4 separate regions of the Homo sapiens genome follow, and all the other regions are linked to region 1. Evidence: promoter capture Hi-C in 16 types of primary human blood cells and fetal thymus (Javierre and others, 2016). All regions are on one chromosome and are shown on one strand. Each heading gives the region's core, a stretch centred on a gene start or on the middle of the fragment in contact. The rest is flanking DNA. Distances are from core to core; before and after follow the strand shown.

Region 1 (6,728 bases), core at 2,859-5,358:
AGTGATGAAAGAAAAAAAAAGCCTATGTAGGCTTCCATATCCTGTGAAATTAACCTTCCAAGTAAAGTAGAAATAAAGATTTTCTCAAACAAACAAAAACTGAGGAAATTCTTTGCCAGAAAGCCTACTCCATGTGAAAATGTTAAAAGAATTTCTTGACCATCCTGGCTAACATGGTGAAATCCCGTCTCTACTAAAAATACAAAAAATTAGCCAGGCGTGGTGGTGGGCGCCTGTAGTCCCAGCTACTCAGGAGGCTGAGGCAGGAGAATGGCGTGAACCCAGGAGGCGGAGTGTGCAGAGAGCCGAGATTGCACCACTGTACTCCAGCCTGGGCAACAGAGTGAGACTCCATCTCAAAAAAAAAAAAAAAAAAAAAAAAAAAAAGAATTTCTTCATGCAAAGGGAAAAATGATGTGGGCCAGAAACTCAGATTTACATAGAGAAAGAAAGAGCACCAGAGAAGAAATAAATGCAGATATAATAAAATGTTTTCATTTTTCCTACTCCAAGTTAACCTAAAATGAAGCCATTTATTCAAATTAATAGAATCAACAACATATTGAGTGGTTATGGGACATAAATAAATGGAATGACTGGAAGCCCTCCTGTTCTTTTTAACATTGTCAGTCATTTCACAATGTTAAAAAGAACAGGAGGGCAGAATTTGGGACATTCAGTTGCATGGTGTATTCTCTACTCATGAAGTGATATAGTGTAATTTAAAATGGGCATGATTCGCTGTAAATATATATTACAAACTTCAGGGAACCACTAAAAATGTTTTAAAGGAAGTATAATTGATATGCTAAGAAGGGAGAGAAAATAGAAGCATAAAATGCTCAATTAAACCAGAAAAGGCAGGAAAAAAGGAAGAAAAGATAAAAACGATAGGTACAATGAAACATTTACAAATGTGGTAGATATTAATCTAACTATATTAATAATCACTTTAATGCCAATGGTCTAAAACACCAATTAAAAGACAAGAGATCAACAGAGTACATAAAAAACACAAAACACCCGACTATATGTTGTCTATAAGAAAGTCATTGTAAATATAAAAATACAGATAGGTTAAACATAAAGGGATGGAGCAAGATATACCATGCCAACACTAATCAAAGAAAAGGTATAGTAGCTATATCAATTTCAGACAAAGAAGCTTCAGAACAAGGAAAATTGTCAGGGATTAAAGAGGGACATTACATTATGATAAAAGGGTCAATTCTCCAAGAAGGTACACAATCCTTAATGTGTATGCAACTAACAAACTAATGGCAAAATGTATGAGGCAAAAACTGATAGAACTATAAAGAGAAATAGACAAATTCACTACTATTATTGAAGGCTTCAACACTTCTTTTTTATTAATTGACATATCACACAGGCAGAAAAATCAGTAAGGGTGTAGTTGACCTGATGAGCAATAGCAATCAGCTTGGTCTAACTGACACTTATACGGTACTCCATTTAACAATAGCAGAATGCATGTACTTTTTAAGCTCACATAGAATATTTGCCAAGATGTACTTCATTTTGGGCCATAAAACATACCTTAACAAATTTAAAAGAATAGAAATCCTAAAAGTTTGTTCTCAGACCATAAACTAGAAATCAGTAACAGAAAAATAGCTGGAAAATTCCAAAATATTTCCAGATTAACCAAAAGAGTTCTAGGGTCAAATAAGAAGTCCTAAAAGAATTTTAAAAATATTTTGAAGTAAATGAAAAGGAAAACAACTTATTAAAATGAATGGGATGCAACAAAAGCAGCACTTAGAAGGAAATGTATAGTATTAAATGCATACAATAGAAAAGAAGAAAGATCTAAGTCAATAATCTAAGCTTTCATCTGAGGAAACTAGAGAAAAAAGGAGCAATTTAAGCCTGATGCAAGCAGGAAAAAAAATTAAAATTAAAGTGGAAGTTAAAAAAATTGAAACAGGAAAACATTCGAGAAACTTAATGAAACCAAAAGCTGATTTTCTTTTCAAAGAGTTAATTAATAAACCTCTAGCCAGCCTAACAAAGAAAAAAATAGAGAAGACGGAAATCATCAGAATGAAAGAAGGGTCATCACTACGAATTCCATGGACAATGGAAAGGTAATAAAGGAAAACTATGGACTCTACACCTACAAATTTGGTCACAGATGAAATGAACAAATTCTTTAAGAGGCAAACTAACCAAAACTTGCACAAGAGATAGGTTGTCTGAATAGGCCTACATCTATTAAAGAAATTTGAATCGATAATTAATAGCCCTCCAGAAAGGAAAGTACTAGGCCCAGATGGTATCACTAGCTAATCCTACCAGATATTTAAGGAAGAAATGACATCATCCTCCCCAATTTCCTCCAAAAATAAGAGCAGAGGCAACACTTCCTAACTCATTCTTTGAGGTTAGCATTAGCCCATTGTCACCTCTCAGTGCCGTCTTCTTCCTGCTTGGTGACCATGGGCTGGCTGGACTTTGAGCTCCGCTGGCTCATCTTCCCTTCACTAGAGAGCAAGTGAAAGAGAGATGACAGGGATGCCTGTCTGGGAGTGGTGGCACTGGGCACTGAAAACCAGTCTGGTGCCACCACTACTGCTGATAATAGCAATAGCTTTTGCTTTCTTGGGGCTGTACCAGCGCCAGAAGTAGCCTTAGCACAGAGTCCCAATTAGACAAGTTTCCATACATTTTTACATTCCACACATTTTCATTTTTATCAAGAATGTACAGTCATCCCTTGGTATCCAGGGGGAATTGGTTCCAGGACCCTCCATGGATACCAAAATCCATGGATGCTCAAGTCCCTGATATAAAAGGTGTAGTATTTACATATAACCTATGCACATCCTCCTGTATATTTTAAATCATCTCTAGACTTATAATACCTAATACAATGTAAATGCTATACAAATAGTTATACTGTATTTTAAATTTTTATATTACTTTTTATTGTTGTTATTTATGTTTTTAATTTTTAGAAAATATTTTGCATTCATGGTTGGTTAGATCCATGGATACAGAATCCACAGATAAGAAGAAATGACCGTATTGATGTACTTGTCTTTTTTTTTTTTTTTTTTTGAGATGGAATTTCACTCTTGTTGCCCAGGCTAAAGTGTAATGGTGTGATCTTGGCTCGCCAAAACCTCTGCCTCCCTGGTTCAAGCGATTATCCTGCCTCAGCCTCCTGAGTAGCTGGAATTACAGGCATACACCATGACACCCAGCTAATTTTGTATTTTTAGTAAAGACAGGGTTTCTCCACGTTGGTCAGACTGGTCTCATTGTCTTACATTTTTTAAAGATGATTTCCAGGCTTCTCTGACCAGATATGTAAAAAATACCAGAACAGAAGAATAAAAAAAGCAGAAGCAGCACTCACTCTCTACCTGCTTGCCTTTTTTGTTGGGTCTCATCTGCTTTCACTTCCTCCTACCAAGTATTCAGAGATCCTGAAGTGATTCTAGGGCTAAGAGCCACATAGATGGGCTCAGAGCAGAACCGGTCCCCAACTACACAGCCTGGAAAGTGTGACAACAGACAGGCGTTTGGATTTTAATTCTTCTAAAAAGATCCTTTTTAGACAGAGTTGTCTTTTGGAGTGGGGATAAAGGAGGCCTGGGGGAGAAGAGAGGGTTCAGAGGTCACGGGGAATCATCCAATCCTACACAAAGCCTCAGAACAGGCATGATGTTCAAACAGCTCCAGTCCAGCCATTTGCAGATGTAAGAGAATAGGAAGATGATGTGAGTCACGGCATCCTTGAGTTTCTCCAACAGCCAATCCCTGCAATTTAAAAAATCTGATTGCCTCGTTATTTATTTGTAACTGAATTCTATTGTATACCTGTAGAGTGAAGCTGGGTAGACATTAAATAACAAGTATGAAAGGGAACCCTACCAGAGATGAAGGACAGACGGGAAAGGAGACGATGACCCACCTGAAGTTGAGATTGCTGTCTCCACTTGCCATCTGCCCCTGCTGGCCCTGCTGGGCCATGAGCTTGGCCTAGGATCACACCCGATTCGATTTTCACTGCCCCGTTCCTTCCTGCAGCTCTGAGGTGAAGCTGCCAACTGCCCCTCGGTGCTCAGTCAAAGAGGAAAAGAAAAGTGAAATTGCCTAACTAGCTGACGTGGGTGCACCAACTCTACAGTCCTCCCTCCACCCAATCTCCATGACGTCTCTCAGTCAAGGGAGGAGGAGCAGAGCCAGCCCCACGAGGCCACGGAAGACAGGGTCACTTGTTCCTGCCAAGGAAAGAGGGTGGAAAAGTCATTCAACTCAAGCAGATCAAAGTTGTTTTGAGGTAAGGTGGCATCATGAGGAGGAAGTAAACTCTGTATTTGTCCCCACCCCTTGCTGAGGTGGCTGAGAAGGACAAGTGAAGACCAGACATTTCAAATCTTCAGTCAGGCTCCAGGGCTGGCCATGCACCTTAGTGAGCCTGGGCTGGATGGCTTAGGCCCAGTGTTTGGACATGGGGCCAGGGAGAACTGAAATAGCATGCATTAGAAAGTGGGGGAGATGCTCTTAGCACTCCATGAAAGCAGACAGAGGTAAAAGACAACTCTCTCAACTCCTCCAGCCAAAGGCAAGTGCTGAGGTTGGGCAGAGAAATGAGGTGCAATTCTAAGTTTTCTCAAATATGTGGGCACTTTACAACAGCAGCCAGGGGTGACTGGGAAAAAAATGAGCTTCAACCATTTCACTGAAATCTTGAGGAGAGTGACAGCCTTCTCACTGGATGGGGAAAGGGTTTGGAGCTGAGATTATCTAGACCTTCAAGGACAATATGATACAGGAGGATAGCTGTATTACATTTATGTTTGCACACAATTTTTCATTTATACCCAGCCCTCATTCTGTAAAGGATTTGAAACAATTTACAAAAACACACTATATCAGCATAAAGTCGAGTGATAAACAAATGGAAGCAAAGGGCAAATATAAAAAATATAACCACAGGACTAGAAATCCAGGCAGAAAAATGGGTCAAAGACAGGGGGCTGATGAGAGCCAGGGTATGGGTAGAATCCAGGGCCAGTGACAGAACAGTAGTGAGGATTGAAAAGCCAGAGGCAAAGCAGTATTTTTCCAAAACATGTGCTCCTGAATCCTACTTTTTCTGGTTCATTACACATATGCAAGGAAATTTGCATACATAAGTTTGCAAAATACAGAGTGCAAGAAATTTCTACCCCTTCCACACTTCTGCTTTCTTTCTACCAAAGGAACAAACACCAATCTGGTTGAGACAAACTCTAGAACACTGATGAGGACACCTTTTCCAGTATCTCTCTCTCTCTCCTCTCTCTCTCTCTCTCTGTCCTCTCTCTCCTCTGTCTCCCTCTCTCTCCCTCTCTCTCCCTCCCTCTCCCTCCCTCTCCCTCTCTCTCCCTCCCTCTCCCTCCCTCTTTAAAACAAGAAGGAAAAGTATGCTGGGCTTCTGTTAGACACAGCTGTCCTCTCCTCCCAGTCTCCATGGGGCTCCAACAAGGCCTGGTACAGACTATACCGCCTGCTCCAGCATCCCCTCTCTCTCTTCTCTCTGCCCTTAGGCAGTAGGCAGACCCAGGACACCAATGAACTGGACATTTTTGAAAATGTGCCAGCTTCTTTTGCTTATAAGCACAAGGCCATTGGTGTTCCTCAGCTGACTGGTGGTAAGATTGGTACTTCAGGGGTACTGCTGCTACTACTAGAAAGCCCTACTTTGCAACACCATGCATTAGCCCAGGTAAGGATAGCCTGAAATTTCAGTTCTATTTCCCACTATCTTGTTTTTCCCTATGCTCACTACAGAACCTCTCCTGGGTAAGGGATTCCTGGGCCAGGCATATGTAGGACCATCAGACCATCTCTGGTTCCCAATGTCTTCCTTTACTGCCACGTGACCAGTGGAGTCAGAAGGCTCCGGCCTGCCTCCTGGCTCTGTTCCCCCATCCAGATTTAGGCCAAGTAGGTCATAATCCCCAAAGGTAAATCAATGCTTTCATTCTACCTGGAAGATTTCTCTTCATTTTGCTAAGCATGCTAGAATCTGACACCTGGAATTGGGGAAATGAATTGTATAGAGTCTTGATCACAATCCAGTGCTGTAATTTAATTTGCCAACTTACCCCTATTTGCCCACAACTCCAAAATTCCTGACTCTGAACGCTAATGGGGATGTTCACTGTTTTTATGTCCAATTATGTCAGATAACCAATCCCAGATTGATCATATTTCCTTGAATATCTCTTGCCTATAATTCAACCTCTGGTGCCCAACATTTTTATCAGTCAGGATTTGGGAGTAAAAGTAATCCAAACTGACTCTGGCTAACTCAGGCAAAAAGTCAATTTCTTAGAACTATATTGGGTAGCTCACAGAATGTATGGGAAAGCCAGAGGACTAGGTTAAGAAAGTAGGCAGTCCAGGCAGGTTATATTGACTCACTTGCCCTTTGTCATAATATAGTTGAAAGATATCTGGATCACCTGGACATCCCATAGAATGTCAGACTGGGCTGGGCATGGTGGCTCATGCCTATAACCCCAGCACTTCGGGAGGCTGAGGCAGGCAGATCACGAGGTCAGGAGATCAAGACCATCCTGGCCAACATGGTGAAACCCCATCTCTACTAAAAATACAAAAATTAGCCAGGTATGGTGATGCGTGCCTGTAGTCCCAGCTACTCAGGAGGCTGAGGAAAGAGAATCACTTGAACCTGGGAGGCGGAGGTT
Region 2 (6,728 bases), core at 1,488-3,987, 310 kb before region 1:
ACAGGGAAAGTGACTTTAAAGTGATGTAATTGAAAGAGAAAAGGAAGCAGGGAGAGCCACTCACCCTGTAAAATTCCTTGTGGTTATGAAAGATGAGACGCATGTCCTGCACAAACCCTTCTACTCGGGTGTACATCTGCTCATTCAAACTTGTCTTGACTTTGTTTAACCACATGGGCTTCTGTGGGCCCTGAGACCCCTCTCTGTTCTGTTGAGTAAAAGACCAAAATGAGGCTATCAGCCCAGTGCCATAGACTCCCACTATTATGGAATAAAGGTTTGTGGAGTTCCCCCAATCCATAGGTCAAAATCCTAACCCCCCTGTGAAGGTACTAGGAGGTGGGACCTTTGGGAGGTCATGAGGTAAGAAGGGTGGAGCCCTCATGAATAGGATTAGGGCTCTTATAAAAGAGACTCTGGAGAGTTCTCTCCTTCTCTTTCTGCCACTCAAGAACACAGGGAGCAACCCTGTGTCGTCTCTGACACCTAGAAGACAGCCCTCTCCAGAACCGGACCCTACTGACACCCTGATCTTGGACATGCAGCCTCCGGGACCGTGAGAAAAACATTTCTGCTGTTTAAGCCACCTAATCTATGATAAATTTCTATAGTAGCCTGAACTAAAAACTCATCAACAAGCCAAATAGAATGGCACCTTGTGCCATGGGATTCAGATCACAGATTTGACAAATGCCAGTATAAGCATTTTTGTTTGGCTGTTACTTACATAATACGGTTCTGAGGCGAAAAAGCAGCTTTTCGAATCACAGTAGACCTTCAAGAGGAGGAATTCACATTTCTGCAAAAGATGGAGGCCATTTCAAATTAAATGCAATTTAGAGAGAAAGAGCTCATATGCTTGCCCAAAGAGAACACACGACTCCCAAACCTGTGGACTCTTTGAAACAAACATGGCATGGGGAGTTTCTTTGGACCGGGATTTTTCTTTGGAATATGAATTGTAGCGTTAGGTCATGGAGCAAAGCACACCATAGGCCAGCAGTTTGCTTTTGGGCTCCATTCCTTGAGCACTTTGTAAGACTGTGCTTCTCCTGCCCAGGTGAACAGAAAGGAAGAGGCTTCAGGTTCACATTTTTACTCACCAACTGCTCCTCAGGCAGCATCTGCCTCATCAGGACTTCAGATTCCTGATGACCTGATTGGCTTTCTGGGCATCTTTCCTGAATAGTCTTTATCCTGCAGAAGATGCAACTCCACGGGTTCCTGAGAGATGGGGCATAAAGTGAGCAATGGCAGGTTCTGTGAATCAGCCGCCATTCCTACAGTTGTTCAAGTCCTCTGCTCAAGAATGCCTAGTGGTTTCCACCTTGTATCCAACTTCTCTCTTGGAGGCCTCTGCACTAGAGCCCCATTTGGACTCAATAGCCAAAGGCATGCCCTCCCACCAATAGTGATAGCAGGGGTGATCATCTGTTGGCTGAAGTGCCCCATGAGTGACAGAATCTCATTCACCTCAAAACTTAGGGTTTCCATCTGAGCCACTGGGAACTTGATAATGAGCACGGTTTGCTACAGTTAATGGAAATGAGTACCTTAAGCACAAAGTGTTGGGCCTCTATGAGTCAATCAGATCACAGAAAAATCAGAAAACAAGTTCTTGTTTCTCAACTTTGCTGAGTAAGCAGAGAGCACAGGCTATAGGCATCCTCTCCCTTGGCCCTGCCATATCTTATACCTAGAATCTGTGCTGCAGAAACTTCTTGAAAAGGAAATCTCCAGAGAGGTGTCAGATATCTTTCATTTGTTCCTAGATTCATTCTCCAACCTTCTCTACTAGGCTGTCTGTGCTAGGAGGCTTTTGATAATCAGGCAAGCACAATGACCCATCCTAGTGATGCCAGCATCCCCTTGGCCATGTAGTGCTTGCTCAAGGAGCCTGTTACAAAGTGCTCCTTTGAGAGCACTTTGCATCTCTGGTGCAGAGATAGGGGCTATACAAGGGCTCAACCAAAAAGCTGGTTTTTCTTCTGCCTCTGCAGATTGGCCAACTGGTCAAAAGCAGAGGTTTATGCTGATCCCCTGAGATGACACCCTGGGAGCAGGTGGGTCACATTAGCCTCCTCCATTATGGAAGGGCAATGCTCTGCCCTCATAGAGTCAGACACATTCCCGGTAGAGATCATCCTCTCAGCCTTAACAATTCTGTCCACACACCACTCACAGAGCACCTTATCAATCTCCGTGGTATCCTGCACACCATCACCTCTGTCCAAAGGCACATTTTTTAGCAAAGGAAGTGAGCAGGGGACTCACACTTGCAGAATTCACAGGTCTCAACATGTGACCTGTGACCCAGGGTCAGTTGGCTTGATAGACTGCTGCAGCACTGGCTTTACCAGCTGTGTGATGGTCCCACAGCAGGTGGTGTACTCTTTAAACCAGCAGGCAGTGTATGATGGCATCACCCCATTAGAGAGCATGGGTCTGGGAGCCAAGTAGGGGAGGTAGAAGTTGACACCTCTTACTATTGCACTCAATAACCACTTGAAGAGTTTTTGCTTCCCATTAATCTGCTGCTACCAGCACTGTTCAACAGCTCTGGATAATACTTGTGGATCTTGATGCTAAGGAGCCTGCTCCTTATGCATCAAGAAACACATAACCAGGTACAGAAACTCTGCAGAGTACTCATGAGTGGCAGGAGGAGCTGTACCACAAGAAGGAAGGGCTCAGGGAAGGGGACATGTCTTACTCACTTGTTAGCTTCCACGGATGGGATGTGGCAGTGCTCATGAAAGGATCTTGGACAAGTGTCGCAGCAGAACAGCCGTCCCCATTTGTTGCACACCTCACATATATTTGAGTTTTCCGGCTAGAAGGGGAGATGTAGACATCACCGGGATCAGTGAGACCCTTGGACCCTAGAATATGTGACCTTTTTATGTATCAAGGGCACACTTGTAAATTTCTGTCCTCAAAATATTAAAGATTGCTGAGTGGAGATCTCAGAAGACATTTTGGTCTGCGGCAAAGTTCAGTAGATAGTGGCTGTGTGTCAGGCCAGAAAAGTTTTCTTTATGAAACCAGAGATTCTGACATGATGACTAGTGACAAAAATAGGATGAATTAGAGATTTTTTGAGCAATTTATTAAACAGCTGGGAAAACCTGGCCCAGAAATAGTGTCTTTTCTAGCTGTCTACATCGTATCCTTTAAACTGACTTGCCAAAGGGTGATTTACTGAGAATTTAATATGATGGAATAAACTTCTGAGATATCACTGCAACCCACACTCTTGTCATAGCAAGAATGAGTTGAAGAAAGGGCTTGGGGGAGGAGTTCCTAGATGTCAGTTCTTTTCCTGGAGGGCTCTGGGCCTGCAGCAGTACCTCTGGGATGGAAAAACCGTGGGCAAGATGACCAGGTGGGCACCAGGGAGTACAGGGCTTTTTGCTTTTTGCTCTGGGAACCTGGAGGAAGAGTCCCCATGACTTAGGCATGTAAGGTGTTGTAATTTCTCTTCCTCTACAAAGTCACTATACAAAGAAGAGACTAAAGTCACATAAATAAAAACAATTCTAGGCTGCAAGATATATCTTGCCCATGTGTTCCCTTTCAATGGCAGAATTTGAGTGGCCTATTAGGAGCCATTTCTTGGGCACATCTCCAAGGGGGGTGCCTGAGCTTCCCCTGGAGTGGGGCCTTGTAACTGTTTTTCCTTTTTGTTGTAACAGATGAGACTCATCGATGCTGACCACTATTTTTAGGCTGCTGGGTCAAGGTTTCTGATACATCATCCTATAAAGTACACTGCAAGTGGGCCCCAAGAAAGAATAAATACCACAGGCAAATCCTATGTTTGAAGTTCCATTGTCTAGAAAGCCTGCAAACTTGGTGTATGTCTCTTTAACCTTTTTAGTAAGAATTTTTTTCTTTTGCTTACAAGTGGTTCTCAACTTGCTCTACAGTAGAATCCCCTGGGAGCATTAAAAAACATCTCTGGAGCCCCATTACCAGAGATTTTGATTCAGTTAGTCTGGGTTGGTGTATAGGCATCAGTATGTCTTAAATATTGTCCAGATGGTTCTAATGTGCAGTCAATAGTTGAGAACTCTGGCCTCTAATGCAGTGGTCTCTGGACCAGCAGCAGCAGCACCTGGAACTTGTTAGAAATATACAGCCTTGGGCTCTGCCTCTCACTTGCTGAATCAGAAGCCTAGGGGTAGCTCCTAGCCAGCTGTGGTCTATGAAGCCCTTCAGGTGGTTCTGATGGACCCTACACAATTGTGGCAATTGTGATCGAACTGTATTGCACTACAGTGACTCACAACTTTTCTTGTGCTAGAAAAACACAAAACACCAGAGGAGCTTTGGAAACACCAATTCTCAGGCAGCACCTCAGACCAATAACATCAGAATCTTTGTCAGGCGGTTGCGGGGGATCCCCAGGTGATTGCAACGTGCAGCCAAGGTTGAAAACCCACATTACAAAGTGGTTTCTCCTGAGTAAGGGCTGGGAGGTCATAACTAGAGTCATTAACAGCCTACAAGTTTGTCTAGGAAAGTTTTTGAAAAGGGGTGAGGACTTCCTTGCTGGAAGAGTTGCCTTTTCCTCTTCACAGAGGGCTTGGCTGTGGGCTGTAAGAAATGGCCCTATGGGTCTCCCTTAGTCATCAAACAAGTTATGCAGACCCCAGAGATGAGAGCTGTTTGACTACTGAAGGGTCTCACCTCCAGCAAAGAAACAGAAACAGTGTGGATTGATCTAGATCTTGCTAGGGAAGAGCATTGGCTAAGAAAATAGAGGGCATGGCAACTTCTTTTCTATCCCCTCTCAATTAGTGTCCTGTACCAGTCCAGCTGCATGGCATTTTTGTTTTGAGACAGGGTCTCACTCTGTCACCTCGGCTGGAGTGCAGTGGTGCGATCACAGCTCACTGCAGCCTCAACTTCCTGGACTTAAGTAATCCTACCACCTCAGCCCCTGGAGTAGCTGGGACTACAGGTGTGTCCCACCATGCCTGACTAATTTTTGGTATTTTTTGTGGAGGTGGGGTTTTGCCATGTTGCCCAGGCTGGTCTCAAACTCATGGGTTCAAGTGATCCTCTTGCCTCAGCCTCCCAAAGTGCTAGGATTGCAGGCATGAATCACTGTGCCTAGCTTACATGGCATTCTTACAGCAAAAGGTGCTCCTTGCAGTTGTGCAAAAGGCTGACCCTGCCTAAAATGCTCATCTCATTGCAATGAAAAGAATCAAAATGTGACTTTGTTTAGACAGGGAAGTCACCCATGATTTTGTTATTGAAATACCAGGGGTTCAGTTTAGGTCCTGCTGCTTGCCACGCAGAAAGCCAATCACTGAGACAATGAGTATTGCCAAGCAAGAAGGCTTTAGTCGGGTGCTGCAGCCAAGGGGATGAGAGATCAGTCTGAAATCTGTCTCCCTGACTCACTAAAGTTAGGGGTTTATATAGCAGAAATGTATCTATATTCAGGGAAGCAGGAATTAGGGAGTGGTAAGGAGGAATTGGTTAACAGGAAGGAGATTATTGGTTAGGCAGTCATAAGGGGTGAGGAGTTTGGCATCTCATTGTCCAAATACAGTAATCTGGTGAGTTTCAGTCCCTTGATGTTATGTGGGGGTCTGACGGTTGGTTTCCTGAGAAAGAACTCAGATAAGACAAATGTAACTCTCTCAAGTTTTAAGACTGAGAGGGTCAATTTCTATGTTTATTCAAAATAAACTGTAAAAATCAGATTTATGGGACAATTGGGTTCATTTCAGTGCCCCTTTTCTGTTTATCAATTCCTCAATCATGGGGAACTGGTTGTCAATCTTTCTGGCTGTTTCATGCTGATGAGGAGTGTCGTGGGCAAATCCATACCATGGGTGACCCACATAGCCACCCAAAAATCAAAAGTTAACTGAATACTATAGGTTTCTTCTGAAACACACTCTTTTTCTCTCCAGTCTCCCACTTCCACTAAAGACAAATCACAGCAGGACCAACCTACCTGCCAAATAAGCTTCAGTCCCATATACTTGGCTTATTTGCCCACACAAAGTGCAGCAAGAACCATTGTCCATGTAGGCTATCTTAAACTGGCTTTGCTGGAACCTCTCACAAGGCCATTTCAGTCAAAGCCCTGGGAAAATGACCAGTTCCTCCAACTGTGTCTCATTATAAAAGAAAACATATTCTTTTTTTTTTTTTTTTTTTTTTTTTTTTTGAGATGGAGTCTTGCTCTGTCACCCAGGCTGGAGTGGAGTGGCATGATCTTGGCTCCCTGCAGCCTCCACCTCCCAGGTTCAAGTGATCCTCCTGCCTCAGCCTCCCGAGTAGCTGGGACGACAGGCATGCACCACCACTCCTGGCTAATTTTTGTATTTTTAGTAGAGACGGGGTTTCACCATGTTGGCAGGCTGGACTCAAACCCCTGACCTCAAGTGATCCACCTGCCTTGGCCTCCCAAAGTGCTAGGATTACAGGCATGAGCCAACACACCCAGCAGAAAACAGATTCTTATTAAACATACGCAAACACATTGCCATGAATTAATAATATTCACAAATAGTTTATGAATTCTGGAGAAATTAGGCAGAGAGAGAGAGAAATATGCCTCAAACTTAGTTTACAAGAGTAATGCTCCTCTCAATTGTTAAAGGCAGCAATGTTTCAAACAAAAAAAATCCATAAGAAATTATTTCTGGCCTCCATTTGTTCAGTGTAGGCAACTAACTCCTGCTCTGCTTCATATTAGGTTA
Region 3 (6,728 bases), core at 897-3,396, 310 kb after region 1:
AAGGTAGTAAAACCTCAAATCCTGTCTTCCTCGGCGTCTCTCCCTTCCTCAGAATAAGAAATCCTTCATTTCCTAGACGGAAAAATGCGGAAAAACATAAAAACACATGTAAATCGGGGGGAAATCACACTTTGAACTCCTGGTGGGGGACAGGAGGGAATTGGTTACCTTACGTGGTGAGGAGATAACGGAAGGGGCAGCTTCCAAACCCTTAAGACAAATGTTGTGTTTTTTTGATAATGCTGTTTTACTTTGGGGGAGGTTTAGCCTAAGCATCGAGTCTGGTGGTGGGCATAGTTTAATTGCTTCTTTAGTTAATTGGGGGAGGGAATGTGTTTGTGTGTAAAGGTTGGGCCGGTGCGGGGGGAGGCGGGTACGGTTAATAGCGCAGTGAATCCGTTCTAAGTGGACGTCTAACTGCTCTCCTGCTGTCTCCTTTCCTAGTCGCGGTCCTCGATCTTGCCTGGGCTGCCAGATCACCCGATCTCCGGGCTTTACTCCGTTTTGTAGGCCCTTTAGTGATGTGTTTAACTTTATGTTCCTCTCGAGAGTCTCATTAGGTATTTTTGGCATTTCATTTTTTAAAGACCTAGCAAGTTGAGTCTCAGAGTCTCCTCTTTAAAAACAAAACAAAAAATACGGGGTAGAAAGTTGAAAGAGCTATTGAGTGGGGTAAAACGACGCTCAGAACAAAGGTCCTAGTTGTGTTAGAAAAAAAGGCAAGAGGCCTGTATATGAGGCCTGTGTGTGTCGCATTTACACCCCGGGGGGGTTGAGGAATGGAATTAGCAGAGGTTTAGAGACAATAAATTGTAGAGGATTTTATTGAGGCTGATTTTCATATTTACCACATGCAAAGTGATCAATATTAAGTGTAAGTTTTAAAGTATACAGAATTTCTAATTCTTTCTTTTGACACTTCCTGCTGTGTGTTCAGCCCCAGAAATGTTGAACTGCTGTGACTATCTTTGTGAGATTGAGGGAGTTTTATTTTAAGCTTAAGAGTACATAATATGATTGGGGTTTGTGGGCTTTGTACATGTCTGCCTTTCTATGAATGTGCCAATATCCATAAGAATTGGAAAACTGTAATTAAGATTATCATTGTTTCCATTCAATCCCCAGTTTTTCTGGAGTGTGAGCAGTTTTTAAGTCTGTTCAGCTGACATTTATACTACTTAGTTTGAGTCTATGAACAGGCTTTATTTTTCTTTTTTTTTTTCATTTACTTTCAAAAAGTTTGAGAACAATTTTGGCAGTTAGGTTCCAGAAGGTGCTAAACTAAAGTAGTTACATTTAAAAAACGAATGGGATGCTAGGTAGATCACGGTAAAATCAGTACTTTCACCTGGCAAAGTAAATTTGTAGTAATGTATGATTCCATGTATGATTCCTTTCCCATTGTAACTTTTTTTTTTTTTAAAGCAGAATCTTGCTCTGTCGCCTAGGCTGGAGTGCAGTGGTGCAGTGTAGGCTTAATGCAACCTCTGCCTCCTGGTTCAAGCGATTCTCCTGCCTCAGCCTCCTGAGTAGCTGAGATTACAGGCACGCGCCACCACGCCCGGCTAATTTTTGCATTTTTAGTAGAGACAGAGTTTCACCATGTTGGCCAGGCTGGTCTCGAACTCCCGACCTCTCAGGTGATCCGCCTGCCTTGGTCACCCAAAGTGCTGGGATTGCAGGGGAGAGCCACCACGCCGGCCCCAGTGTAACTTGTAAGATTATTGTATTTATGTTATCTAGACAAGGTTTTAATATCCTGCTTTATTTTAAGGTTTTCATCTTAGCAAGGAAAACATCACTGGCTTGGAAATTCACACACTACCAGTTAGTAGCTTTGTGACCTTGAGCTAGTCACTTAACCTATCTGGTCTTCATTTATTTTATCTGTAAAATGGGAGTGGGTAATCTCTATTTTACCTCACTGGGTGGTTGTGAGACCCAACAGATGTAATGACTGAAAAAAAACAACATGCTAAATAAATTAATTTTAGAAAATTACATGAGCTGTTTTGAGGTCATTTTTAAAAGATACAGCTTCTCATTAGTCGTGGTGGTCCATGGGGCAGGGGAGAATTAATGTAAACTAGGTTGAAGGTACAGAGTTATAGAACTTCATAATTTGAAATTGCTGCTTAATTGGTAGTAGAATTTGGGTCTCATTTTTGTCTTTTTAAAGTTACCTTCTTTTTTTGGTATCAGCATGCCAGATACTTGTTTGCCATACATTCTACTGAAAAAACTTGTTAATATGTTTAAAGAAACTTCAAATTCATTTACGTTTTTTATTGACAAAGTACCTGTTCTGGTTTGTGACTCTAATGAAATTGACTTAATGTAAGAGATTACAATTAGGGAATAATGCTTCTGAATCTTGGTCACTGTTTTCTTTACAGAACCTAGGGAACTTTCCCCCCTTTTAAGTGGATGGGTAGGGATCTTTTTGAGCAAATGTGATACCAGTTGCTCCTTTATTTTTTTGTTTGCTATTTGATGGACTCAAGTCAAAACAGCAACCTACTTGGTTTTTTAATCTTCACTGAAATCATTCCTTGCAATTGCCTGTTTGACATGGACTTTTCCCTCATTTAAATCAAGCAAGCACCCACTATGTACAGAAAAACATAGAAGATAAAGGATGTGAAGAACAACTTACAACTCATGTCTTCAGATCACTTCCTCGAACAAGTTTCTACCTGTGATCTTTGTATTTCTGATTAACTGTACTTGCTTCGTTTCTGCATTACAGTATTGCATTTGTTGACATGTGTTGCTTTTGTTTCCCTGATTGGACTGTAGGCTTCCTGAGGGCAAGGATGATTTCATGTCAATGTGGTATGTGTGAAGGTATACTAATAAACCTGATTGGTCTGGGTGAGGTGGCACTGGAGGTGAGGACGTGGGAGGATCGCTTGAGGCTAGGAGTTGTAGCCCAGGCAACATAGTGAGACTGTCTCCACAAAAAAGAAAAAAAAAGTTAGCTGGGCATGGTGGCATGCATCAGTAGTTCTAGGCAACTTTGGAGGCTGAAGCGGAAGTATTGCTTGAACCCAGAGATTTGAAGTTAATAGTTATGATCATGCCACTGGACTCCAACCTGCTTGGAAGGGTTCTTTGACCCCAGCAGATTCTTCAGAATGCTTTCTCTTGGTTGGTTCAGTGATCAGGGCCTCTTCACATCTCCCCTGACTAACGTGCCATTAGAGTGCCTGGATGGATATCAACTGTCACTGCCATGTTTTAGTGTTAAGCCAGTGGATTATTCTGTGCCACTTTTTTCATAGGCCAAGCTTTAGTTAATAAGGCCAAGCCTGAGGAGAGTCCAGGCCAGATAGGGTGGAAGAGTAAAAATCTGGTGGATGTTACAGAATAAATATAATTTTTAGATTGTTGTATATAATCTTAGTGCTTGGTAATTTTTTTTTTTTTTTTTTTTTTTTTTTTTTTTTTTTTTTGAGACAGAGTCTCGCTCTGTTGCCCAGGGTGGAGTGCAATGGCGCGATCTTGGCTCACTGCAGGCTCCGCCTCCAGGGTTCATGCCATTCTCTTGCCTCAGCCTCCCGAGTAGCTGGGACTACAGGTGCCAGCCACCACGCCCAGCTAATTTTTTTGTATTTTTAGTAGAGATGGGGTTTCACCTTGTTAGCCAGGATGGTCTTGATTTCCTGACCTCGTGATCCACCCGCCTTGGACTCCCAAAGTGCTGGGATTACAGGCGTGAGCCACCGCGCCCGGCCAGTGCTTGGTAATTCTTAACGTGTAGTGTAATGTAAGCTTTACTTGTGTATTTTCTTTTGGTACTTGTGTATCATTTCAGCAGCTGTGTTACAGACTTGAAGACATAACCTCAAAGCAGTTGTTCTCTACCTCTCTGCTGGGTTTCTCTGTGCATAATGGATGCTTGCTGTTATTTGTAATAAATAGATAAGTATACCGATGCTAGACCTGTCCCTTGATTTTTCTTTTTTTTTTTTTAAGTAAAATTTAACTCTGCTAATGTCTTGGGTTTTTTAAAAATGTAGTTCTTTAATATCCTAACTTACTGATAGTTTTAGGTTATTGGCAAAAAGAGGTTTCCTAGACTGAAATAAGTCTGTTCAGTCATTTTTCTCTGAGGCCTTTTAGATTTTGGTTGTTTATTGTGATTTCAGTGATTTCATTAAACTGAATTGGATAGAAGAAAAAGGAACTTACCCATTATTCAGGCTTACCTGCTTTGTCTTGAGAGTGCAGAAGCTATTGGCAGTAGTCAGTTTCATGGTTATGCTTGTTCGTTTGTTGAGACAGAGTCTCACTTTTGTCACCCAGGCTGGAGTGCAGTGGCGCGATCTCGGCTCACTGCAACCTCCACCTTCCAGGTTCAAGTGATTCTCCTGCCTCAGCCTCCCAAATACTGGGATCACAGACGGGCACCTCCACACTTGGCTATCATGGTTATGCTTGATTTAAAAAGTCATTCAAATGGTCTAGAGTGAAAAATACCTGCTACTGTGTGTTTTCCTTAATAGCACTGTTCAAGTGATTATCTGATTTGAAGGCAAGACTTAGGTTCCAATCCTGGCTATGCATTTCCCATCTTTGTAACCTTGGGCAAATAATTTAACTTAGTACTTTGTGAGCTTCAAGTGCCTAATCTGAAAAATTTGATTATTACCACCTAATGTAGAGTCAGTTGTCATTTATATGCTAGACATTCTGTATTTAGATTAGGCTCCACAGATGAATTGGAACACAAGGCCCTTTCTCCACTTGTTTACAGTACTGTGGACCATTGCCTCATTTGTTAAAACTCTTTTAACTCGAACATACCTCTGTTATATGCATAGGTATCCTACTTGAAACATTTGACCCAGTGGCTCATGCCTGTAATTCCAGAACTTTGGGAGGCTGAGGCAGGAGGATCACTTGAGCCCAGGAGTTTGAGACTAGCCTGAGCAACTTAGTAGAGACCTTGTTGCTACTAAAAGTAAAAAATTAGCTGGGCATGGTGGCACATGCCTGTAGTCTTCAGCTACCTGGGAGGCTGAGGTGAGAGGATTGCTTGAGCCTGGGAGATGGAAGCTGTGCTGAGCTGTAATTGTGCCACTGCACTCCAGCCTGGGTGACCGTGAGACCCTGTCTCAAAAAATTTTTTTTTTTTTTTAGTATACAATAGTATTCCTTAGTTGATTATGAATTCTTTAAAGTCTTTAGCCCTCACCCTTTTTTTAACTTTTATAAGGACACTAATCCCAAGTAGTGTCCCTTTTTATCTCTGCATCTAGCACAGTAGCTGGCCCATGATAGGGATTAAGCGTTTGTTGACAGAATAAGTCTTGTGAAAATAAAATAAGATACTGTAAGTGGAAATATTTTGTAATGGCTTAATGTCCTATTTTTAAAATTTTGATTCTTATTTTGCATCGTTAATGCTAAAATGACTTTGAGACTTTTAGTCAGTATATATTTTGGAGACTGCAAGTTACTTTAAATCATACATTTTAAAAAGAATTAGGGCAAGCCATTTTGTTACTCTTTAATTGACCATTATGTGCATGTAATAGTTGATAAAGTACATTGAGGACCTAAATAAGTTTTTTTTTTGAGATTGAGTTTCGCTGTGTTGTCCAGATTGGAGTGCAGTGGCGCAATCTTGGCTCACTTGTAACCTCTGCCTCCCGGGTTCAAGCAATCCTCCTGCCTCAGCCTCCCGAGTAGCCGGGATACAGGTGCCTGCCACCACACCCAGCTAATTTTTTGTATTTTTAGTAGAGACAGGTTTCACTCTGTTGGCCAGGCTGGTCTTGAACTCCTGACCTCACGTGATACACCCGCCTTGGTCTCCCAAAGTGCTGGTATTACAAGAATGAACCACTGTGCCTGGCCAATATGTTTTAATGCAGTGCTAAATGATTAGTGTTTCCAATTTATAATAGTATACATCATTGTAGTTTATTCTGTTTGTTTCTTTTTAGAGAGCATGTACATATTTCTATAAATATGGTGTTATTACCCATACATGGATTTTTGAAGGCTATTTATAAGCCTAAGTGTCCATCAACAAGCCTTCAAGACTTGAAGTTACAGCATTTCAGTGTGTATTTTAATCAACTTGTTGGCTGTCATAACCAATGAGTTCTACCCTGACTTCAAAACTCCTACTCACTCTAGCCGTGGGCAGTGCTCTGAATAAATAGATGTACCTTGTGCTGTGTTCTTAAGGTCAGATGAACTTAATTTAAAGATTTTATACTGGTAAACATGTGCGATGCCCTGGAAACCTAAAGTGAGTTTTCACAGTAGCCCATCTCTTGAAATTCTCTCTTCAGTTGTAATTTAAGCTACTTTGTGTCCTTAGAGAGCAGGTTCATAGAGATCATATGAATGTCCCCTACTTTTTTTGATTCTCAAAAACCAAGTGCTTCTAGTAGCCTTGTAAATAGGAAATATATGCAAATGCTGTCAACTTCTCAGACCCCAGTGTTTCGTAATTCTGTTTTACATCCTTGGCTGCAATCAGATTGAACTGTTTCTTCCTCTCTGAACACACCCAGCAACTTTTTAGCATTTTTGCTTTGGTTTTTTGTCTACTTGAATTGACACCCCCTCTCACATCTTGTATCTATTATTTTTATTATTATTTTTATTTTTTGAGGCAGAGTTTTGCTTTGCCGCCCAGGCTGGAGTGCAGTGGTGCGATCCCGACTCACTGCAGCCTCCACCTCCACCTCCTTGGTTCAAGCGATTCC
Region 4 (6,728 bases), core at 2,691-5,190, 290 kb before region 1:
GACCCTGAAAAGGGTGCTGACTTATTTCTGAATCATAAAGTTTTACTGATTGTTTTACATGAAGACATTTGAGCCTGTATGTTGCAATCTGTATCCAATGATTGTAACCTCTCTATTGTATCCTCCAATAAGAAAGGACAATTCTGGTGTGAAGAGTCCCTCTTCCTTCTCCTGACCCTACCTATAAAATCATTCCAACTTGTAACAGACTCTGGAACACTCTCAACTTTGTTGGTGTGTTTTCTTGGGTTGATCCTCACATTTGGCTTTCAATAAACTGTTATCAAATTATTTATTTCTCAACAGGCTAAATTTTCGTCAACATTCCGGTGTAGTTGGCAGAATTTTGGAGTGACCTCCCTGGACGACATATGCGGCCTCCGACCTTTGTGCAGGTACTGGCAATGAACACATTGTGTTCCTGAACTTGGATGCCCTGGCTGGGGGTTGCAGAGGAGTTCCTCCCAAAATCAATGAACCTCCCATCGTGGTGGAAGTTCTGGTTTTTTGAAGCTGGTTTTCTCCTTGGCTAGACAGGAGTTTTTGTTGAATCCTAGGGCGGTGTAAAATAGGAGCTCTGTGAATTATTTCTCTCAAGGTTTTGGATGGGACAACCTTTCCTTAGCTTTCTCATTTTTGAGTGCATGAGGGAGGGCAGTCTTGCTCTGAAGTTAAGAAACATTCTCTGTCTGTGACCAAATGGTTTTTAGGAAACCCACAATAGCGGAGGTGTCAGGGCATACCCCCAGCAACATGGAGCAGTCTCATAGGAAAATCCCCACACTGTTAACTTTTCGCTCAGCTGGCAAGCTTCATAAAAACTGATTATCTCTTGTCCATGAATACCCTGAAACTTCTTTGGAGGTGACTCTGGAATCAGAGACATGTAAGATAATCTTTTCAGCCTATTGAGTGAAATTTCGGGGAAGAAAAATTCAAAACCACCACACTTAATCCACTACATTACTTGTCTCATTCAAAACAACCAAGATGGGAAACATGTCTTCTAAGACTCAGGGTACACTGCCTCTATCAGCACCAGCTGGTTTGATGTGTAACACTTAGAGTCCTTCTTCTTGCAAGTACTTAGATAAGTGGACCCATGTAACCCGGGATGGTCAAAAGCAGCAGTGGCCAAAATGGGGATCTTTTGAAAATGCCTAAGCTGATGTATTACCATACACAATTGGAAAAAGCTGGTTTTAGAACCAGACAAACTGACTTACTTCTGATAGCAGTGAGATGCTCCTAAAAGAAATTCTGGGGAAAAAAAATGGCCTTCATTGAAGAGATGAGCAAAAGGCCATCCCACACTATTTCTGATTTGAAAAAGACTTCAGAAGCTTTCTCCCTTTCATTCCAATTTCTTCTCCTCCTTCTACCCCTATGCCTTCATATTCTTCCTTAACTGAATTTATTCCTTTCTACTTGTTCTCTTGGCTCCCATCTGTCTCTTAGGTAGAGATTTTTGGAATGTCACAATACACACATTTCCTTCTCTCAAAAGGGGGAAAACGTATTTACGTTTGGAACAGAAGGAGCAAACAGAACAACTAAAGAATGAAAATGAAACAATTAAAATTATCACAATTATCACCAACAATTTTTTCTGACCCAAGACTAACGAATGACACCGATGAGTTATTGCAAGCTTTGCTGGATCACTTATGCTCCCAATCTCCCACTGACATTGGTAAAACATATTCAACCACCCCCATTAAAGTGGAAGTAAACCCAATTAAACTCTTTATCCAATATCAGACAATACCCTTTAAATGCCCTGCTGGACTTCACAGTCCCTTGGAAATGTAAAACTTCATTAGCCATATGGAAGGATTAAATTCTTTCTCTGTGCTTTGAGATATAAATGTTTTACACTCATTAAGGGCTTCAGTCATGTAGGACAGATAACTTTAACTTGTACCATTTTGAAAGGCACAATTTAATTCAATTCTCCTTTTAAAACTAGTGAAATTTACCTGATTCATGACCAAAATTTTAAAATCAAAGCTATAAAACCTCTCTGTAGTAACAGACTGACTTATAAATACATTAATGCTCAGGAATTAGTAGTCCCAAACATCTAAGTTCACATGACTTGAATAAATCTTTTGATAAGTATGACTGATTAAATATTTTTGCTTTAATAAAACAACTATCTTCTAAGTTATCAGCAAAATACTCATATATTTAACTTTAAGATTCTTTCTTAAGTGAACATCTGATATTCACAGGCTATAAAATTGGTTGACAGGAAAATAACTTGAAATGATGACTAGCTTTGTCTAATATATCAATTTTCATAAGTAATCTAGGTAAACTGTTAAAAATAAATGTAAATGGGATAAACATATATAAATAAACTTTTAATGTAATTTATAATCTTAAAGTTTTGCTAAATTAAATTCAAAAATAGATGCTCATTAAACGTCTAGGTCAATTCCAATTAAGATAAAAAATGTTTTTGTTATGGGAAAATGTTTCTAAAAATTATAAAAGAGTTCTCATTTGTAAGATACTGTCATGTGATAGACAATTCAAGATTTCTTATTTCCTAGGTTTTCAATAAAATTTAAAGTTACTGAAAGTTTAAACATTCTAATTAATATATATAATTCTAAATTTAAAATGTGTCAAAAAAGTAAGATGTGTTTTTCATGACAGAAAATTATAAGAAGGCATAAAAATATGTTCTTTACTGAGAAAAAGTAATTGTGTTTAATTCAGGGGTTATTTAAGGTTGTTTTAAAATAAGGAGCAATAAAGAAAGGAACCAGTAAGAAGGAGAGAGAAAAGCGAAGAAAGTTATAAATATTTTTGGTAAGACAGGTTAAAAGAGAATAATTTTGCATGAGAAAAAAGTCTTGTAAGTTTTTTGTTCTAAAGTAAAATGTCTAGTTATTTAAGAAAGTACAGAGAAAAGCAAAAAGTCCAAGCGTTTCGCAAACAGTCTAAGTCATAATAAGGTTTGTGAAAAGAAACCCTATGAAATAAATTTTGTATATGATCAAGTTGGCTATAATTAAAAGGAAATTCTAAGTCTTTCTAAAGATTGAGATTTGATATTAAAAATAAACTAATAAAAAACAAAAAATTTGGTCCCCTATGTTAGAACAACAAAGTTTGCTTAAAATATTGCTTTGCTTTTAATAAAATTAAAAGATACTGATTTTTAATTCTGATATCTCTTTCTTTTTAAAACTTTTTTTTTTTTTGAGATGGAGTCTTGCTCTGTTGCCCAGGCTAGAGTACAGTGGTGCAATCTCGGCTCACTGTAACCTCTGCCTTCTGGGCTCAAGCGATTCTTCTGCCTCAGCCTCCTGAGTATCTGAGACTACAGGCACATGCCACCATGCCTGGTTAATTTTTTGTGTATTTTTAGTAGAGACAGAGTTTCACCATGTTGACCAGGCTGGTCTCAAATTTCTGACTTCGGGTGATCTGCCTGCCTTGGCCTCCCACAGTGCTGGGATTACAGGTGTTAGCTATGGCGCCTGGCCCAAAACTTATTTTTATTGAGATAATTCCTGTATTGTCTTTATTAAGTTTTTGATTACTCAAGAAAACTGAGCTTTAAAAGAGCTAAGATTTTTACATCCATACAACTTTCTGTATTGCTTTTGAAGTCTTTTGATTATAACTCTGGTTAAATGAATAATTATTATTTTACAATGATCTGTGATTCCATTTTGATCAAGTGTTTTATACCTTTCTACATCTTTGGCAGGTTTCCCCAAGATCAACATCCTAAATTGTTTTTTTGGCCTAAAATTTACTTTGCTATTTTCCAGTTGGACCTCTGAGGGACCTGAAAGAATGTATCTCTCCTCTTGCAGAGATATTAAATGATTAGACTGATTTGGTAAATTGTATGGGAGAAACTGTCAAATGATACATAATACTAGATCTTCCTTCAGTTACACTTATGAGTATGTTATCGATAAAATGTTCCCCAAATTATATAAATTTATAAAAATCTGTTATCAGTCATAATTTTGATTAAGTCTTTTCTAAAGTAATATTTGTATAGATATGTTATTAATGTGAATATCCTAAAGAGTATATGACATTTGTAAAAATCTAATAGTTTTAATGGGACACTATCAGTCGTGATTCTGGTTGTTATCTTAAAATGCTGCAGGTAATCAAAATATCTAAATTTCCTTGTCAATTGGGTACTTCTATTAGATTTTAACCATGGCTATTCTAAGTTTTTGACATCCACAGTTACCGTTTTAAAATTTTCTCTACAAGCATTTGAAGTCAACTATAATCCAAAATTGCTTTTTTATGGAAAAGGCTCTGGCAAGTACTCTTGAACATAGGTTTCTGATAACTTTGGAGATCATATAGTTAGACTAGATAAAACTTCCAGAACTCTAATGAAAAACTGATGTCTTCATGAAGATTGCTAACCCAACACCAGCAAAATAAGAATTACATGAGACTAAATTGATGGAGGAATAAAGTGACTTTTATGACTTTTTGTTTGAAACATTGCCGATTCTTTTCATATTTTGTTTTCAAAAGTCAAGAAAACTTCTCTTTCTTTTAAGTTACTTATATCTGACAGCCCTTAGGTAAAGTAGACTTTTGTGAGCAAAACCAAAACAGTTACTTTTCTCTCTCTACATGAATTTGCCATAATTTGGAAACTATTCATAAACATTCTTATGACAATGGTTATTTGCATAAGTTCAATAATAATCTGTTTCTTTTGTAACAGGACAGATTGGAAACACTGATTATTTTACCAAGGCTTTGACTAGAGTGTCATATTTTCAAGTATGACAAGATTGTTTTGAGGGATTGAGATTGGCTTTGTGGAGCTAATAGACATGGAAGAAGACTGACCTGGTACCTTGTCTACACAGTTCCCTCATACGGTTTTTTAAAAATTGTATTTACTTAGAAGCATTCAGAATGTCAACAAAACAGCTGCAACTGTTTTTTTTTTTTGCAATTACAGAGTGGCATTCAGTTAACAGAACAACAAATGTTTTGTATAAGCTACATCAGAGACAACTGAAGGTGAAAAAACTACCATCCTCATATACAACTAATTTGTGCTGTGCACTAACAAGAACCTGCTTTAAATTTCCATGCCAATTTACAACCCCCATACTGTACCAGGCAAAGGTTAGTGGCTAAATACCACCAGGACAGGGCTATCTGAAGACACATTCGGTAGTGGTTAACTATACAAAAAAACACAGTGTACGGTTTAAAAACAAATCTTACACAGTCTTACGTTGAAGTTTTTTTCTTTAAAAGGAGTGAGTTGTGTACAGGCAGCTTAAATGCTTTATAGACAAGAAAAAAACTGCACTAGAAGCAACTTATTTATCATCATCTTCTTCATTTTCCTCCTCTTGTTCATCCTCTTCATCTTCTTCCTCTTCCTTCTTTTTCTTGCTTTTTTCAGCCTTGACAACTCTCTTTTTTGCTGAATTAGGCTTTCCTTTAGCTCGATATGCAGCAATATCCTTTTTGTATTTTTCCTTCAGCTTTGCAGCCTTCTTTTCATAAAACTGCTTGTCAGCTGCAGCGGTGTTATTCCACATCCCTGCCAGTTTCTTCACAACATCATCAATGGACAGGCCAGGATGTTCTCCTTTGATTTTTGGGCGATACTCAGAGCAGAACAGGAAAAAGGCCAAAGGAGGCCTCTTGGGTGCATTGGGATCCTTGAACTTCTTTTTTTTCTCCCCTTTAGGAGGGATATAGGTTTTCATTTCTCTTTCATAATGGGCCTTGTCCGCCTTTGCCATATCTTCAAATTTTCCTTTCTCTTTAGCAAAAATGGTCTTCCATGTCTCTGAGCACTTCTTTAAAAACTCTGAGAACTTGACTGAAGCATCTGGGTTCTTCTTCTTATGCTCCTCCTGACAAGTTTGCACAAAAAATGCATATGATAACATTTCACCTCTCAGCTTCTTAGGATCTGCTTTGTCCATGTTTAGTTATTTTTCCTCAGCAAGGTACAGAGTCGCCCAGGGCCTGTCCAGCTCTCACTTGCGCCAGCACTATCTCTATGGAGCTCAATGTACTGCAATCTCTTGTAGGTTTTTTGACCTCGTGTTAAGTAATGTCCCTTCCCAACAGGCCCAGAAACCTTGAGGTATTTGGGGGACTTCAAGAAAGGAGGAATTTACCCAATTCTTACAAGTAGTGCAGACACAATCTGATGATAAATCCTTGGCTTGGCTTTCTAGCCTGAAGAAGCTTTTGAAAGTCTAATCTAAAATGTCTAACGAAAAAGTTCCAGCAAAGCCAACTTAAAAGGAGTCTATATGGACAATCACTATTCCTGTTGCCTTTTATATAAATAATCAGGTCAAGTACAATAAGACTAAAACTTATATTGCAAATAAAATTGGCCTATGATTTTTCTTTGGCAGAAAAGGGAGATCGAAGAGAGAAAAATTATCTTTCAGAAGAAAATTATAGCATAGTTGTTATTAGATTCTAGCCCAGACCATTATTTTTGAGTTTCAAAAATTATTATTTGCTTGCAATTTGGACTTAATTATTTCCTGGCTATAATAAGTCTCTAAAGAAGAACCTGGATTTAATTTTCTTTCTTAGTTGGCTCCCTAATGGAACAGGTTTTTTTTCCCCCATTCTTGTACACAAATTCTCTTTTTGATTATAATTTTTGTGTGCATTATATTTCTGCTAGTCAATTATTAATGCTGTGAATCACTCATTGTTTTATTTCTTCCAAG

The links. Contacts are between HindIII fragments. The CHiCAGO score rates a contact against its expected background, and 5 or more counts as called.
Region 2: a contact is called between a fragment that was not itself captured here and the fragment with the promoter of SP140 in region 1, in 2 of 17 cell types (total B cells and total CD4 T cells). The highest score is 6.2, in total B cells.
Region 3: a fragment that was not itself captured here is called in contact with the fragment with the promoter of SP140 in region 1 in 1 of 17 cell types (neutrophils); the score reaches 5.1 in neutrophils.
Region 4: a contact is called between a fragment that was not itself captured here and the fragment with the promoter of SP140 in region 1, in 3 of 17 cell types (naive B cells, total B cells and naive CD4 T cells). The highest score is 7.3, in naive B cells.

What each region holds. Positions count from the first base shown.
Region 1 is chr2:230,223,116-230,229,843 of GRCh38, reverse strand. It overlaps SP140 (SP140 nuclear body protein), which reads right to left and starts at 4,108. Exons shown (of 27, transcript NM_007237.5): 1 at 3,941-4,108. The coding sequence starts at 3,999. It also overlaps a transcript of SP110 not described here. RefSeq lists enhancers at 3,519-3,568, 3,589-3,668, 3,739-3,788, 4,019-4,228. The HindIII fragment of the contact is 6,572 bases long and covers 1,851-6,728 here.
Region 2 is chr2:230,535,372-230,542,099 of GRCh38, reverse strand. SP100 (SP100 nuclear antigen) reads right to left here. Exons shown (of 29, transcript NM_001080391.2): 25 at 2,718-2,833; 26 at 1,104-1,224; 27 at 728-799; 28 at 65-208. Among named protein-coding and RNA genes, the nearest start is that of SP100, 120 kb to the right of the region's middle. The HindIII fragment of the contact is 6,508 bases long and covers 1-5,991 here.
Region 3 is chr2:229,914,108-229,920,835 of GRCh38, reverse strand. The region is part of intron 1 of TRIP12 (thyroid hormone receptor interactor 12); the gene reads left to right. Among named protein-coding and RNA genes, the nearest start is that of TRIP12, 4.5 kb to the left of the region's middle. RefSeq lists an enhancer at 410-509. The HindIII fragment of the contact is 2,293 bases long and covers 1,000-3,292 here.
Region 4 is chr2:230,514,252-230,520,979 of GRCh38, reverse strand. The region is part of intron 24 of SP100 (SP100 nuclear antigen); the gene reads right to left. It also overlaps the pseudogene HMGB1P3. Among named protein-coding and RNA genes, the nearest start is that of SP100, 100 kb to the right of the region's middle. The HindIII fragment of the contact is 4,574 bases long and covers 1,654-6,227 here.